Regions from separate parts of the Homo sapiens genome. Here all the other regions are linked to region 3. The links are contacts of gene promoters, found by promoter capture Hi-C in blood cells and fetal thymus (Javierre and others, 2016). All regions are on one chromosome and are shown on one strand. The core of a region is centred on a gene start or on the middle of the fragment in contact, and the rest is flanking DNA. Distances in the headings are between cores, read along the strand shown. Region 1 overlaps ABCC1 (ATP binding cassette subfamily C member 1 (ABCC1 blood group)). Region 2 overlaps ABCC1 (ATP binding cassette subfamily C member 1 (ABCC1 blood group)). Region 3 holds the start of NDE1 (nudE neurodevelopment protein 1). Region 4 overlaps ABCC1 (ATP binding cassette subfamily C member 1 (ABCC1 blood group)).

Evidence for each region. Contacts are between HindIII fragments. The CHiCAGO score rates a contact against its expected background, and 5 or more counts as called.
Region 1: a fragment that was not itself captured here is called in contact with the fragment with the promoter of NDE1 in region 3 in 7 of 17 cell types (erythroblasts, fetal thymus, total CD8 T cells and 4 more); the score reaches 9.7 in erythroblasts.
Region 2: a fragment that was not itself captured here is called in contact with the fragment with the promoter of NDE1 in region 3 in 1 of 17 cell types (naive CD4 T cells); the score reaches 5.9 in naive CD4 T cells.
Region 4: a fragment that was not itself captured here is called in contact with the fragment with the promoter of NDE1 in region 3 in 2 of 17 cell types (erythroblasts and fetal thymus); the score reaches 5.6 in erythroblasts.

What each region holds. Positions count from the first base shown.
Region 1 is chr16:16,118,289-16,122,067 of GRCh38, forward strand. ABCC1 (ATP binding cassette subfamily C member 1 (ABCC1 blood group)) reads left to right here. Exons shown (of 31, transcript NM_004996.4): 24 at 3,687-3,779. Among named protein-coding and RNA genes, the nearest start is that of ABCC6, 100 kb to the right of the region's middle. The HindIII fragment of the contact is 775 bases long and covers 2,117-2,891 here.
Region 2 is chr16:15,956,028-15,960,221 of GRCh38, forward strand. All of the region lies in intron 1 of ABCC1 (ATP binding cassette subfamily C member 1 (ABCC1 blood group)), which reads left to right. Among named protein-coding and RNA genes, the nearest start is that of ABCC1, 8.5 kb to the left of the region's middle. RefSeq lists enhancers at 2,158-2,658, 2,659-3,159. The HindIII fragment of the contact is 473 bases long and covers 2,658-3,130 here.
Region 3 is chr16:15,648,251-15,651,992 of GRCh38, forward strand. NDE1 (nudE neurodevelopment protein 1) reads left to right here and starts at 1,995. Exons shown (of 9, transcript NM_017668.3): 1 at 1,995-2,044. RefSeq lists enhancers at 1,696-2,197, 2,198-2,697. The HindIII fragment of the contact is 10,572 bases long and covers 1-3,742 here.
Region 4 is chr16:16,138,554-16,142,662 of GRCh38, forward strand. It overlaps ABCC1 (ATP binding cassette subfamily C member 1 (ABCC1 blood group)), which reads left to right. Exons shown (of 31, transcript NM_004996.4): 30 at 1-5; 31 at 2,620-4,109. The coding sequence ends at 2,728. Among named protein-coding and RNA genes, the nearest start is that of ABCC6, 83 kb to the right of the region's middle. The HindIII fragment of the contact is 2,114 bases long and covers 1,722-3,835 here.

The DNA of each region.
Region 1 (3,779 bases), core at 1,254-3,753, 470 kb after region 3:
CCTTGGTTCAATCATGTGGCCCCTGCGCCCCACCACACTGTGGCCCAATGATTGATGAGAACGAACAGTGATGGAATCAGAGAGAGTAGGTCCAGTTCCTGGAGTCTCGTTATATCCTCTTGAAATTGGTGCCAGCTTTTTTTTTTTTTTTTTTTTCCCCTGCATTTACCAAATATGTTATCTGTGTTCATACGCAAGCTGGAAAATTTCCTGAAAGACCCAAAAAGAACAAAACAGGCCAAATGCAGTGTTGAAGGCAACTTAAATGTCTGCCAATAGCAGGACCTTGGGTACACCGTGGAGCAATGTGGCTTTGAGCAGGGATAATTAGAAGACGCAGCTGTTGGAGCACCAAGGATTTTTATTTTTCAACAACAAAGGAAATGATTTTAGCAAAGGACCAAGTTCTAGGTGCACTGTCGTTATCACCGAGATGAAATGCATAATGTGTGTGGGCAGGACTGGAAGGGAGGCAGATACATGAAAACATCGTCTTTTTAAGGGTTGAGATTATAGAATAGTTAATTTTTTAATGGCTTTTGGCTAAATTTACATTTATCCTCTCACTAGGCAGTCTCATTCCTAAGTGTATATTAAAAAAAAAAAAAAAAAAAAAAGAGCAAAGGCAGTGCTTAGAATGTTCTCAGCATCTTGATTCATAATCGCCCAAACTGGAAACAGCTCAAATGTCCATTAACAGGACCGTGGAGAAATAAATTGTGATATAATTATACAATTTATGGTTGAGTAGTAAAAAGGAATGAAATGCTAATACACAACAATTTGGGTTTATCTCAGAGATGTTATAGTGATCAAAAGAAGCCAGACGAAAAAGAGTAGGTACTGTGAGATTTCATTTATATGAAGTTCGGTCGGGTGCAGTGGCTCATGCCTTTAATCCCAGCCCTTTGGGAGGCCTAGACAGGAGGATTGCTTGGGCCCAGGAGTTCGAGACCAGCCTGAGCAACATGGGAAAACCTGGTCTCTACAGAAAATACAAAAATTAGCTGGGTGTGGTGGCGTGAACCTGTAGTCCCACCTGCTTGGGAGGCTGAGATGGAAGGGTCACTTGAGCCTCGGAGGCGGAGGTTGCAGTGAGCTGACATTGTGCCAGTGCACTTCAGCCTTGGTGACAGGGCGAGTTGTCTGAAAAAAACATCAGATCGGCAGGGCAGGTGGATCACCTGAGGTCAGGAGTTTGAGACCAGCCTGGCCAACATGGTGAAACCCCATCTCTACTAAAAATAGAAAAATTAGCCAGGCACGGTGGTGGGCGCCTGCAATTCCAGCTACTTAGGAGGCTAAGGCAGGAGAATTGCTTGAACCTGGGAGGCAGAGGTTGCAATGAGCCAAGATTGTGCCACTGCACTCCAGCCAGGGTGACAGAGCGAGACTGTCTTAAAAAATAAAATAAGATCATTCCTGAACAAATATTCATCTCAGGTTAGATTTTTCCAGTAAGTAAGGTTCAGAGGCAGTGGCAAGTGGAGGAAAGTGAACAGGTAACACACTTGAGAGCGATTTGCATCTGGATTGTTCAGAAAGCAAGCTGGTAAGAGAGGAAGGAGATGTGGTCCAGGGTAAGATGGGGCAGATCACCTGGGCCTTCAGCCATGCAGAGGGGTCTGGATTTCATGGGAGGCGGTGGGAACAGCTGGAGAAGAAATTATATCTGATCCACATTCCAGGAATTGGCAGAACAGCTATTCTGAGACTGCGTGGGGTTGTGCGGTACCTGGGTTCACTTACATAGCTTCTGGGGCCCCAGAAGACTCTCCATCTGTGGGTTGCAATTAACGCCCGTGCCGCCACCCAGGAAGAAGCTGCCAACCACAGAGGCCTTGTAAAAGCCACCTGCTGCTATTGATGCTTTTTGTTGGACTCTGCCCCAAAGCAGCCCAGTACACCTGGCCCAGGGCAGGATGCAGGGAGGCCGAGTTCCTAGCAACCCTTTGTTAGTTTTCCCAGCTCTCCTGTCGATAAGCAATTGTAGGCACCTTGTGGAATCAGGAACCCCGGGCTCACCAGTTCCTTTTGCGTAGATGAGAAAAACCTAGGCTAGGAGAGCGCAGTGTCCTCACATGGCTGGTGCAGCCTCTGATCCACAGCTCCACAAAGCTTGCAGAAGGTGGTTGGCTTTTGTTCTGAATCTAACAAGACTTATCGGGAGGCTCTTGGTGCCTGGCACTGGCTGAATGCCCAGGTTGGGGGAGGCAGAGCAGATGAAGCATCTGCCCGCGAGGGTGGGTGGAGCTGCTTGTGAAACGTATCATCGTAGCCCGGGAGCTGGGACACTGAAGCCCGGAGAAGGTGCTCATGGAGGATGGGAAGGGCTTCCCGAGGAAGTGACATCTGTGCTCCCATCTGCTGGGTGATGAGGAATGGCCTGGACGGGATGGGCATGGTGGGTGGAGGCAGGCGGCCTGTGTGCAGGGAAGGAAGGGGAGAGTTACAGGATGAGATGAGTTGAGGGAAGAAGCATGGTTGGCAACTCTAACAGCGCTGGGAGGCCATCGGAGGGGGGTGACGAGATTGACCCTATCCTCATGGGCATCTCAGCTGGGCTGAGTGTGCTGGAACCGGCCATTGCATGGACACAGTCACTCCTGAGGGGATGTGATCAACAGGCGGAATTCTGTCACTTAATGATAACAATAGTCACCAGCTAACTGAATGCTTACTGTTAGGTCAAACTATATGAAACTGCTAATACTTATTTCTTATCTACAGAAACAGCTATTTCCTGTGGTTCAACCTAGTATTACCAGGCACTGTGCTTAGTGACATCATGCATATCTATATGATTTATGAAATAATGTGTCCACGCAAATACACATCACATGTAAGACTGTAACTCTTACATGTCACCCTCACAATGACCCCGTGAAGCAAGCTTTGTTTTGTTTCGTTTGTTTTCTTAATAATATTTTATTTTTGTAGAGATGGCATTTTGCCATGTGCCTGGGCTGGTCTCAGACTCCTGGCCTCAAGTGATCTCCCGCCTCTGCCTCCTGAAGTGCGGGTATTACAAGCATGAGCCACCCCACCTGGCCGAGCAAGCCTTGTTGTTCCCATTTTACAGATAAGGAAACTGAGGCTTAGAGAAGTAAAGTGTTAGTCGTGTTTATATTGCCAGTCAGTAGTTGAGTCAGGATTTGAACTGAGGTCTCGTTGACCTCAAAGCCTATGCTGAAAACCACACTGCTGGTTCCAGAAAACCCTAGAGGTGAAAGGCTTCAGAGAGGCAGTACAGGGTAGAGGTTAGCACTTTGCAGCCCAGATGGCCTGGGTTTGAATCCCAGTTCTGCCCCTTGCTAGCCATGTGACCTTGGGGAGGAGATTAACTAGCTTCTTTGTGCCTTAGTCTACCCATCACATATAGGAATGAGCACCTCAGGTTTTTTGTGAGGATTGAATGAACTGATGTTTGTAAAACTGCTTAGAACGATGCCTGGGGCTGTGGGCTTTGTATAAGCGTGAGCTATTATTGTCACTGTCCTTGTCATTGGTGGTGCTATTCCTGTGGTTCACCAGGTGAGTGGGCACCCCTGTGAGGGCAGCCCGGCTCTAACATTTTGCCTCCTGGAGGTATCGGTTACGTCTAGATGTTCTCCAGCACAGCCCTGCCCTGGGAGGATGGCAGGAGGGAACCTTCATCAACTCCCCGCGTCTGTTCTCTACCCCAGAGGTTCTACGTGGCTTCCTCCCGGCAGCTGAAGCGCCTCGAGTCGGTCAGCCGCTCCCCGGTCTATTCCCATTTCAACGAGACCTTGCTGGGG
Region 2 (4,194 bases), core at 1,644-4,143, 310 kb after region 3:
ACCTGAGGTCAGGAGTTCCAGACTAGTCTGGCCAACATGGTGAAAGCCCATCTCTACAAAAATTAGCCAGGTGTGGTGGCTCATGCCTGTAATCTCAGCACTTTGGGAGGCCAAGGCAGGCAGATCACTTGAGGTCAGGAGTTTGAGACCAGCCTGGCCAACATGGTAAAACCCTGTCTCTACAAAAATTAGCTGGGTGTGGTGGCGGGTGCCTGTAATCCCAGCTACTTGAGAAGCTGAGGCATGAGCATTGCTTGAACCTGGTAGGCGGACACTGCAGTGAGCCGAGATCGCGCCATTGCACTCCAGCTTGGGTGACAGAGTAAGACTCTGTCTAAAAAAAAAAAAACACAATAAAGGAAAGAAAATTCAGGTCTAACTTTCAACTCCCTAAAAGTTTAACTACTAACAGCTTACTGTTGACTGGAAGCCTTACCGAGAACATAAGCAGTTGATAACACTAATTCTGTTGTTGTTGGTTGTTTTTTGATAGAGATGGGGAGCTTGCTGTGTTGCCGAGGCTGGTCTCAAACTCCTGGCCTCAAGCTATTCACCTGCCTCGGCCTCCTAAAGTGCTGGGATTATAGGCGTGAGCCACTGCACTTGGCCTAACTCATACCTTGTATATATATTATATACTGTATTTTTACAGTGAAGCAAGGTAGAGAAAAGAAAATGTTAAGATTAATTCATAAGAGAGATTTTTACTATTTATTAAGTGGAAGTGGATCATCATAAAGGTCTTCATCTTCATTGTCTTCACGTTGAGGAGGCTAAGGAGGAGGAGGAAGGGGAGGGGTTGGTCTTGCTATCTCAGGGATGGCAGAGGCAGAAGCATAATCTGAGTATAAGTGGACCCGTGCAGTTTAAATGTGTGTTGTTCAAGGGTCAGCTGTTTGTTGAATAAATGAATGACATGAAGTATTACAGTGGCTTTTGGGCGGTGTCGAAACTTCTTTGTAAGGATTTTAAGGATGAAATAATCACTTAACTGTCTGGAATGAACACTCAGATAAACTGAGTCCTCCAGCTTTCTCATCAGATGGCTTGTTTTTTTATTTTATTTTTTTGAGACAGGGTCTTGCTCTGTCACCCAGGCTGGAGTGCAGTGGCGCGACCTCAGCTCACTGCAGCCTCAACCTCCTGAGCTCAAGCAATTCTCCCACTTCAGCTCCCCAGGTAGCTGGGACTACAGGCACACACCACCATGCCCAGCTAATTTTTTTTTTTTTTTTTTTTGTAGAGATAGGGTTTTGCCATGTTGCTCAGGTTGGTGGTGAACTCCTGAACTCAGGCGATCTGCCTGCCTTGGCCTCCCAAAGTGCTGGGATTATAGGTGTGAGCCACCGTGCTTGGCAGAACAGCTTCTATTTCATCTTGGAAAGGTCAGAACAGGGTTTTGTCCACCCCTCTTTTCCCAGGACTCAGTGTCTCACACACAGTGGGGGCTCAATCAACATTAGAATTTGAGTGTTTGAGGTATGAGTTCCAAGCTAGGGGTTAGATATAGCTCACCACTGTGCTGGTTTGGCTTGATTTTAATTATAGGAATGACTGTGATTTCCAATTTTATTTATTTATTTATTTGAGACGGAGTCTTGCTCTGTTGCCAGGCTGGAGTGCAGTGGCACGATCTTGGCTCACTGCAACCTCTGCCTCCTGGGTTCAAGCAATTCTGCCTCAGCCTCCCCAGTAGCTGGGACTACAGGGGCACGCCACCACATCCAGCTAATTTTTGTGTTTTTGATAGAAACGGGGTTTCCAGTATGTTGGCCAGCATGGCCTCGATCTCTTGACCTCGTGATCCGCCCGCCTCGGCCTCCTAAAGTGCTGGGATTACAGGCATGAGCCACTGTGGCCCGCCCTACAATGTTTATTCATTGGCAGATTTCACAGAAACATCTGGATTTCTGGCTTCCCTTGAAAAATCAGAAGTTCTGCTAGCCCCAGGCCCACATTTATACATGGTAGCGGTCCGCTGAGGCTGTCCGTTTCTGAGTTGCTCCAGTTTGCCGCAGTCCCCACCCCTCCCTGTTGTTGCTTTAATTTTAAGGCCAAATGTTTGTTGCCTTTGTTTTATTTTATATTATTTTTTTGAGACGAAGTCTCGCTCTGTCACCCAGGCTGGAGTGCAGTAGTGGAATCTCGGCTCACTGCAACCTCTGCCTCCCGGGTTCCAGTGATTCTGCTGCCTCAGCTTCCCGAGTAGCTGGGATTACAGGCCCGCACCACCACACTCGGCTTATTTTTGTATTTTTAGTAGAGATGGGGTTTCTCCATATTGGCCAGGCTGGTCTTGAATTCCTGAACTCAAGTGGATCACTTGAGTTCCTCAGCCTCCCAAAGTGCTGGGATTACAGGCATGAGCCACCGTGCCTGGCCTGTTGCCTTTTTAAAATTGTGCTTCCTCACACCTGGTCTGCTTCTTGCATGGATGGAACCCACTTTGGCACCTGTTGGTATCTGAGTTGGCATCTCCTGCTTTGCAGGCCAACCTTGAAGTTAGCATCTGATTGGTATGTTGGCTTCAGATTTTCATGGCGAAGTAAGGCCTAGCTTTGATGATCAGCTCTTAGTGTGGTCAGTACAACTCTAGCTCGTGAAAACTTGCCCAAACATTTTGCCAAAATTAATTAATGGCCAGACATCCTGAGGCAAGCTTCCCCCCGCTTAGCAAGAAAACTGGGATAGGGCAGCATCCCTGTGGGTGGAGTGGTGCTGGGGACCTGCACTTACCTCTTAGAGGCTGAATGGTTGAACGGGGCCTTTGAGGAAGCTGTATTTTGCGGGTGGGGACATGGAGCACAGTTGCTCAGTGTCGGCCCCGTTGACATGTAGGCCACATCATTCTTTGTGGCCTGGTTGCTGTTCTGTGCAGCGTAGTCTTAGCCCCAAACCTGGCCTCTACCCCCTAGTAGATGCTGGTAGCACCTCCTCTTGTTGTGACAACCGAAAATGCCTCTAGATGTTTCCATATGTTCCCTGGGGTGTGAAATCACACAGCCACTGGTGTGGAGGAATATGGGGGAGAAACATGGAGCAAGACCTTCCTCCTCATCCTGCATTTCCCTAGGAGGTTGTGGGCTGTCGAAATTCTAGTGTAATTGGCTTACTGGGGTTGCCTTGGAGAAGCTTAATGAGACGTTAAGGAGGTTAAACTCCAATTAGCTAGAGAAGAAACTTGCGGCAGTTTCTTTTTTACTGAGGGCTGTGTCTTTTTACCTTTTTCCATTTTCCCAGTTGGAGTTGTGACAGTTCATTCTCCCCTGGGAAAACAAAAATGGCTTTCTTTTTCTTTTTCTTTCTTTTTTCTTTTGAGACAGGGTCTCCCTCTGTCACCCAGGCTGGAGTGCAGTGGCACAATCATAGCTCACTGCAGCCTCGACCTCCTGGGCTGAAGCTATCTTCCCACCTTAGCCTCCCAGGTAGCTGGGACCAGAGGTGCACACCACCATACCCGGCTAATTTTTGTATTTTTTGTAGAGTCAGGGTCTCACCATGTTGCCCAGGCTTGTCTCAAACTCCTGGGCTCAAGCGATCCTCCTGCCTCGGCCTCCCAAAGTGCTGGGATTACAGGCGTGAGCCACCATGCCCAGCCGAAAATGGCTTTCTTGAGAGATCAGCTTTGAAGCTCTACTCCTTCATTTTAAAGTGCCCCAGGAGAAGTGGACGATTACAAAGTTGAGATTCCACTTAAGTGTCCCCTTAGTTTAACTGTGGGATTCATCTCCTGGGGAGGTTGCCAGGTTCTGGAAAGTGGGTGTTAATGACCAGGGAGGGTGCCCCTAGGCTAGCATCCTGTAACCCTCAGGAATTGAGATTTTTATGGAGGTTTTCTCTTCCTCTCTGTGAGTTTTCTCTCTGAGAAACCTGTCTAGGGAGGGAGGCTCTAGGCTAGCATCCTGTAACCCTCAAGTAGTAATTGAGATTTTTATGGAGCTTTTATCTTCCTCTCTGTGAGTTTTCTCTCTGAGGAACCTCAGTGTACCTTTTACTGGCCTCCTAGGTAATACTTGTTTGGAGAATATGTGTGATGTCTAAGTCTTCCCAGTACAAGAAATTTGTGTGGTGTTTGACTGATTGATGGATGGAGTCTTGTTCTGTCGCCCTAGCTGATTGTACCACTGCACTGCAGTCTCGACCTCCCAGGCCAAGTGACCCTCCCAACTCACCCTCCCAAGTAGCTGGGACTAC
Region 3 (3,742 bases), core at 745-3,244:
TACAATACATTGTTGTGGACTGTAGTCACCCTGCTGTGCTCCCAAATACTAGATCTTATTCATTCTAACTCTATTTTTGTACCCACTAACCAGAATGTTCGGTATTTGTTAATGAACATGTTATGACAGGATGTTTTAGAAGAAAATAAAGAAAAAAAGAAATTCCAGCCAAGCATGGTGGCTTGATTTTATTTATTTATTTATTTTGAGATGAAGTCTCCCTCTGTCTCCCAGGCTGGAATGCAGTGGCGTGATCTCCACTCACCGCAACCTCTGCCTTCTGAGTTACATGGCTCACGCCTGTAATCCCAGCACTTTGGGAGACTGAGGTGTATTGCTTGAGGTCAGGAGTTCGAGACCAGCCTGGCCAACACAGTGAAACCGTGTCTCTACTAAAAATACAAAAAATTAGCTGGGCGTAATGGTGGGCGCCTGTAATCCCAGCTACTAGGGAGACTAAGACAAGAAAATCGCTTGAATCTGGGAGGCAGAGGTTGCAGTGAGCCGAGATCGCACCATTGCACGCCAGCCTGGGCAACAAGAGGGAAACTCTGTCTCGAAAAGAAAAAAATTATTTTTTAATTTTAATTTGTTAGTGAACAATTAGGGTTGCTGTGAGAATTGTGCCTGGCACACACAGCCATTTAAAAATCACGATCTTCAGGCAGTGTGTGGTGGCTCACGCCTGTAATCCCAGGACTTTGGGAGGCCGAGGTGGGTGGATCACCTGAGGACAGGGATTCGAGAGCAGCCTGGCCAACATGGTGAAACCCCGTCTCTACTAAAAATATAAAAATTAGCCGGGTGTGGTGATGCGGGCCTGTGATCCCAGCTACTCGGGAGGCTGAAGCAGGAGAATTGCTTGAACTCAGAAGGCAGAGGTTGCAGTGAGTGGAGATCACGCCACTGCATTCCAGCCTGGGAGACAGAGGGAGATTTCATCTCAAAATAAATAAATAAACAAAATCAAGATCATTTAACAAATACATATATTGTACTTACTAAGTTCAAATTTCTGTTCTAAACGTTTTTACAAATGCTGTTAAGTCATTTAGTCCTCTGCATAATGTCGTTTGTTTGTTTGTCTGTTCTTTAAGACGGAGTCTTGCCCTGTCGCCTAGGCTAGAGTGCAGTGGTGTGATCTCGGCTCACTGCAACCGCCACCTCCCGGTTTCCCGTGATTCTCCTGCCTCAGCCTCCTGAGTAGCTGGGATTACAGGTGCGTGCCACCACATCCGGCTAATTTTTTGTATCTTTAGTAGAGACGGGGTTTCACCATGTGCCAGGCTGGTCTTGAACTCCTGACCTCGTGATCCACCCGCCTTGGCCTCCCAAAGTGCTGGGATTACAGGCGTGACCACCGCGCCAGACCCATAATGGCGTTTTATAGATGGGGAAACGGAGTCATAGAGGCTAAACAACTTTCCCAAGACCACACAGTTAGTAAGGGGCAGGACTAGGACTCAAAGCCAAGTTTATGACCAAATTCTGGTGCACTACGTTCTCCTGCTTCTGGAGAAGATAATGATGCTGAAGATTCTACTTTTGGTGTAAAGGAGTAGGAAGGGCACGGGGCACTGCTAGCTTCAGTGGGCCTGAATCTTTGTCTTTCCTTCTGATTTGGAGAAAGTGCAAGAATGGGAAAATGCAATCGAAGTGAAGGAGAGGCCGGCGTATTTTCCTGAAATGCGCGGCCCGCAAGCCCAAACCCGTTTCCCGGGTGTCCAGGCAGCGTTCTGCAGCATCTCCAATGCCCGCCAGCCCGCCGCAGCCCAGCGCCCGGCAGCCGGCGCCTCTCAAACCCCCTCCGGCCAGGAGCCTTCGCCGCTTGGCCGCGCCGCGCCCGGCCTGGGAAAAAAGTTTCCAAACGACGCTGCTCTGCGCTGATTGGCCGAGGCGGACGCGGTACCGTAGAGCAGCAGCCAATGGGAGGCGCCGACCGCAGGCTCCGGGGCGGGGGCGGGGTCCGGAGGGCCGGGGCCGCACCGCCCTTCGCAGCCGCCTCTGCCGCCGCCGCCGCGTTGGCCTCGCCGCCCCTGCTCGGGTAAGTGAGGCGCTGCGCGGGGCTGGGGTCGGGGTGGCTGTCCGGGGACCTCCACCGCGGCTGAAAAGCTCCTCTGCCCCGCCCCAGGATCCCGGGACCCCGGGCCACCGCCTGGCAGGGACCCCTACGCCCCTCGCTTGCGCGTCGCTTCCCGGCCGCCTGGACTCCCCCGGTCCCTGGGCTCCAAAATCCCGCCTCCCTGGAGCCTCCCGTCCTAAAAAGTTAGGCACTGAGTGCCTTGCCACCGGTGCGTTCCTCGCGCTGGCCCCTCGCCCTTGGCAACTTTGTTTCTCTTTCTGCGTTGGTCTCTCTCCCACCCCGTTGCCCTCTTCTCCTTCCGGGACTTCCTGGGTGGTTAAGCCTTGCCGGTCCCCAAACCCCGCTGCCAGGCTCCATCCTCTTTCTCCTCTTCCTTCCTCCCCATACTCCTCTCCTAGATGACCCTCGTTTCTTTTCTCTCTCTCTCCTATTCCTCCATCCTGCCACCCGCTTCTCTGCGACCCCAGACCCCTCGATTGCAGCGTTGCCCCTGCCCTCACACCCACTGTCCCGCCCCTGCAGGCCTCTTTCCAAAAACCCACCCTGCTCCCTCCCTCCGGGAACACGTTTGGGGCAGTCTGCTCTCCGCTTTGCTCCCGTCTCTGCCGCAGGACGGTTCAGGTTTCTTCTGACAGCACTTTGGGGAGGGATTGGGTAAAGGACGAAAATGCTTATTCCGCAGCTTGAGTGATGGCTGGGCTCACTGAGGACCTGAGTCTCTGAGGTCCTGGGAAACCCCGCTGTCACCTTGACACCGCTTTTGGGGAGGCGACTTTATCTTCTCCGAGCCATCTCAGGCTTTCTGCCTCCTGAGGGCCTGAGCTTCCTTGATTGCTTTGTCCGTGGTTACTACCAGGTTGTGCCTCTTAATTTCTACTTTGAGCCTCAGGCCCCTTTTAACTTTCTAAAGAAAAGGCCTTTGCAGCACGACCTAGGCAGGTTCATCATTTTTAGTTTTGTTATAGTGTATTCTAGCATAGGATGGCATTTTAGGACATGGGTCGGGTGTTTTGAAGATTAATTAGATCCCAGCTACTCCTAAAGCCTCTTGTTACCCGACCACCCCAGCCTCCATCACCTCGTTGGTATACAACCCGTTTTTTTTTTTTTTTTTTTGTTTTTGTTTTTGAGACAGAGTCTCACTCTCGCCCAGGTTGGAGTGCAGTGGTGCGATTTTGGCTCACTGCAACCTCCGCTTCCCGGGTTCAAGCGATTCTCCTGCCTCAGCCTCCGGAGTAGCTGGGACTACAGGTGCGTGCCACCACGCCTGGCTAATTTTTTGTATTTTTAGTAGAGATGGGGTTTCACCGTGTTAGCCAGGATGGTCTCGATTTCCTGACCTCGTGATCTGCCCCCTCGGCCTCCCAAAGTGCTGGGATTACAGGCGTGAGCCACCGTGCCGGCCTACAACCCATTTTGAGCCTTTCCTCTTAGTGTGTGTTTTGTGTAGGATTAAATGCAGATGATCTGTGCCGCTGAAGTCTCAGGGGCCTGTGATTCATATATTTTATCCCATGTTGGATAACAGTTTATTAACTTGACTTATTTTTGTTTCCAAAGTGTGTTATTTATTATTTATTTATTTATTTATTTTGAGACGGAGTCTTGTTCTTGTCCAGGCTGGAGTGCAGTGGCATGATCTCGACTCACTGCAACCTC
Region 4 (4,109 bases), core at 1,529-4,028, 490 kb after region 3:
ACAAGGTGATGCCACTGGCACAGTGGCCTCTAGGCTTTGGGAGTTTGCCTTACTCACTGGCTCACTCATTAATTCATTAATTCATTCAACACTGTCCTTATCCCTAGTGACAGCCCCAGTGGGTGGATCCTCTCTTCATCCTGGATGGTACCAGCTATTTCTTTTTTTTTTTTTTTTTTTGAGACAGAGTCTCGCTTCATCTCTGGAGTGCAGTGGTGTGATCTCGGCTCACTGCAACCTCTGCCTCTGGGGTTCAAGCATTTCTCCTGCCTCAGACTCCCGAATAGCTGGAACTACAGGAATGTGCCACCACGCCCATCTAACTTTTATATTTTTAGTAGTGACAGGGTTTTGCCATGTTGGCCAGGCTGGTCTCGAACTCCTGACCTCAGGCGATCTGCCCGCCTCCGCCTCCCAAATTGCTGGGATTACAGGCATGAACCGCTGTGCCCAGTGGTACCAGGTATTTCTAATATCATCTAGTCATTCATTCACGTCAGCGCACCTGCGGTGTTCCCAGACACTGGGGACTCTGTAGGCTGCTGTCAGACAAAGTCCCTGCCTCCAGGACCAAGTAGCTTATTAGATGGAGGAGACAAAAAATATACAGAGCAATAAACCAACAGGATTCCAGAGGGCAGCAGGTGCTGGGAAGGACGCTTGCCAAGGAGACGGGATAGCGAGTGCTGGGCAGGGCCACTGTTTCCATTGAACACTGCAGGCCCAGTGCGTGGGGCCCACAAAAAGGTTTTATTTTTTTTAAAAAATCAGAAGCAGGCCAGGTGCGGTGGCTCACGGCTGTAATCCCAGCACTTTGGGAGGCCGAGGCAGGCAGATCACCTGAGGTCGATAGTTTGAGACCAGCTTGGCCAACACGGTGAGACCCTGTCACCATTAAAAATACAAAAAGTAGCCAAGTGTGGTGGTGCGTGCCCATAATCCCAGGTACTTGGGAGGCTGAGGAAGGAGAATTGCTTGAACCTGGGAGGTGGAGGTTGCAGTGAGCTGAGATTGTGCCACTGCAGTCCAGCCTGGGCAACAGAGTGAGACTCCATCTCAAAAAAAAAAAAAAAAAAAAAAAGAATATAATCCAACCTGGATTTTATTTATACTAACACAGTCATAAAATAGAATTTCTAGCATTTTGTGTGGAGAAAGCCACCTCCGTAGGCATCAGTGCCGGGGACCACAAAAGTCAGAATGCTGCCATAGTGCCAGGGTCCTGGGGGGTTTTGAGTTTTGTGTGGGTCATCTCTGAAGAGGTGACATTTTAGCTGAGACCTGAACAATGAAAAGGAGTCAGCCTTGAGAAGATCTGGGACAGCGATCTGCAACCTTGTTCTTAAGGGCCGGGGTAGTTTCAGCTTTGTGGGCCACATGGCCTCTCAGCCACTTGACTCCAGTGTTGCCGTGTGAAAGCAGTCATAGATAGTGCACGAATGAATGAGCATGGCTATGTTCCAATAAAACTTTATTCATAAAAACAGGCAAGGGGTCAGATTTGGCCTGCAGGCCACAGTTTGCCAACCTTGGATCTAAAGGAAGAACATTCTAGGCAGCCGGTACAGCCGAATGTAAAAATGAATGCGCTTAATGAATTTGAAGGCTAGCATGAGGAGGCCATGTACCTAGAGGTTGGAATTGAGTGGACAGGGGCAGGAGATTAGGCCAGAAAGGTAGGCAGGGGCTGGATCTTAGAGCACCATGTAACCACGGTGAGAAGCTTGGAACTTACTCTAAGAGCCCTATAAAGCCATTGGAAGGTTTTAAGCAGGGAAGTGACATGAGTTTCTATTTTATTTTATATATTTTTGAGACAGGGTCTCACCCTGTCGCCCAGGCTGGAGTGCAGTGGTGGGATCACAGCTCACTGCGGCCTCAAGTGATCCTCCTGCCTCAGCCTTCCAAAGTGCTGGGATTATAGGCGTGAGTCTCTGCACCCAGCTGACATGATGTTTCTAGTTCACTGAGTACCACCTACTAAGTGGCAGATGCTGAGTTGGTGCTTTTGAAATATAGGACATAGAAATGAGGACAGAAGTGGGCAGTGTCAAATCTTACAGGACCTAAAATATTAGGGGTCAGCCAACTATGGCCCACAGGCCACAGATCTGGCCCCCTGCGTGTTTTTATGAATAAAGTTTTATTGGCACGCAGCCACATCTGTTCATTTTCCTGTTGTCTCTGGCAGCTTTCACACTATAAATACAGCAGAGATGCGTAGTTGTAACAGAAAGCATATGGCCTGCAGAGCCTCAAGTATTTACTATCTGGCCTTTTTCAGAAAAATGTTGCCAATCGTTATTGTAGACTGTGGTAAGATCTTTTTATTTTACTCTGAATGTAATGGAACAGTGAATGTGAACAGTCAACACTGTTAATACCATTCACACCATGATTGATGTGGGGTAGATATTAAGGAGCTGGCCTCATGGGAATCTGACATTGACTAGAAATAGGGATTGAGGGTGAGCAACCAGCTGGAAGGTACTGCACCAGTCCTAGCAAAAAGTGTTAGGGGCCTGACCCGAAGCAGTGACTTGCCCAGGTCAGTTGTCCCAGGGGCACGAGGTGCTCACCCCTCCCCTTCCCCTCATGTCTGTATCCCCTCTCCCTCAGGGTGATCGTCTTGGACAAAGGAGAAATCCAGGAGTACGGCGCCCCATCGGACCTCCTGCAGCAGAGAGGTCTTTTCTACAGCATGGCCAAAGACGCCGGCTTGGTGTGAGCCCCAGAGCTGGCATATCTGGTCAGAACTGCAGGGCCTATATGCCAGCGCCCAGGGAGGAGTCAGTACCCCTGGTAAACCAAGCCTCCCACACTGAAACCAAAACATAAAAACCAAACCCAGACAACCAAAACATATTCAAAGCAGCAGCCACCGCCATCCGGTCCCCTGCCTGGAACTGGCTGTGAAGACCCAGGAGAGACAGAGATGCGAACCACCCAAAACACGCACACCCTGCCCCTGGTGCCCTGAGACAGACACACAGCCTCACGCCCCCAGGAATGCAAGTGGTTTCCTGGTGCTTCCCACGGAGGAGTTTTGGCAGCCAGACTTCTGGAGGAATTGGTTGTATAGAAGATCCTAGTGACCAAATTCAGCCTACTGCCTCGGATCTCTCCAGCCGAAGTCTGTGGACTGCAAGTCTTTGAGATGCTTCTGGCTCCCATCACCTCTAACATCCTTGTCTGGGTCTACCAGGAACGCTTCATTTCCTTGGGGCTGCAGTTTTGTGGTTGAGGGGCCTGGAGAAAATCATTTTCTCCCCTTGGCAGTGTCCCAGGGCCCTGGATGGTCCTCTTACCAACATCTGGTCTTCCAGGCACTCAAAAGCTGGGAACCAGCATCTCAGCGCCAGCTCTACCAGTTCTCGTTTTGGGCCAGAGGCAGCCTCTGCACTCCCACGCCTGTCCTCCTGGAAGGGACCTGGTTGGACTAACGGCTAACCTGGACCTGGAACTGTAGGGCCAGGGGATTGTCTCAGGGCCGACGTTCCACCTGGGGCTTCCCTCCCCACCCACCCCGACTCCAGGCTTTCCCTTTTTTCTTTTGTTCAACATTGTAAGAACAATCAATGCTGTTATTACTGTTCCCACCATGATTGATGTGGGGTAAATATTAAGGAGATGGCCTCATGGGAATTTGACCTTGACTAGAAATAGAGACTGAGAGTGAGCAACCAGCTGGAAGGTACTATGCCAGTCCTAGCAGAAAAATGTGTTAGGGGCCTGGCCCAAAGCAGTGTTGGTTGCTTACAGTGTTGATTGATTTTGTTCTTTTTTCTTACCACCTCTTTTCTTTCCCTCTCATGGTACCTGCTCATGGTTATGAAGCTTTCAAAGTAAAGAACACGAAATACCTCCCAAGTATTACCAGTGGGTACCAAAAAAATGTCCCCTTGAGTCTTTTCCTTGTTTTTAGATGTTAATTCTCTCCCTTGGCATCCGGTTAGCCCCCCAGGGGGGGCAGCATTGTGGAGAACTTGATATTTAGTTACTGATGCTCTTCCAGGACACGAAAAGAACCCATCTTTGAATATCAATGATTTTTTTTTTTTAAGTACTGTTCCGGGGAGAAAAACAGTCTCAAAACTTGAACTTCTTGG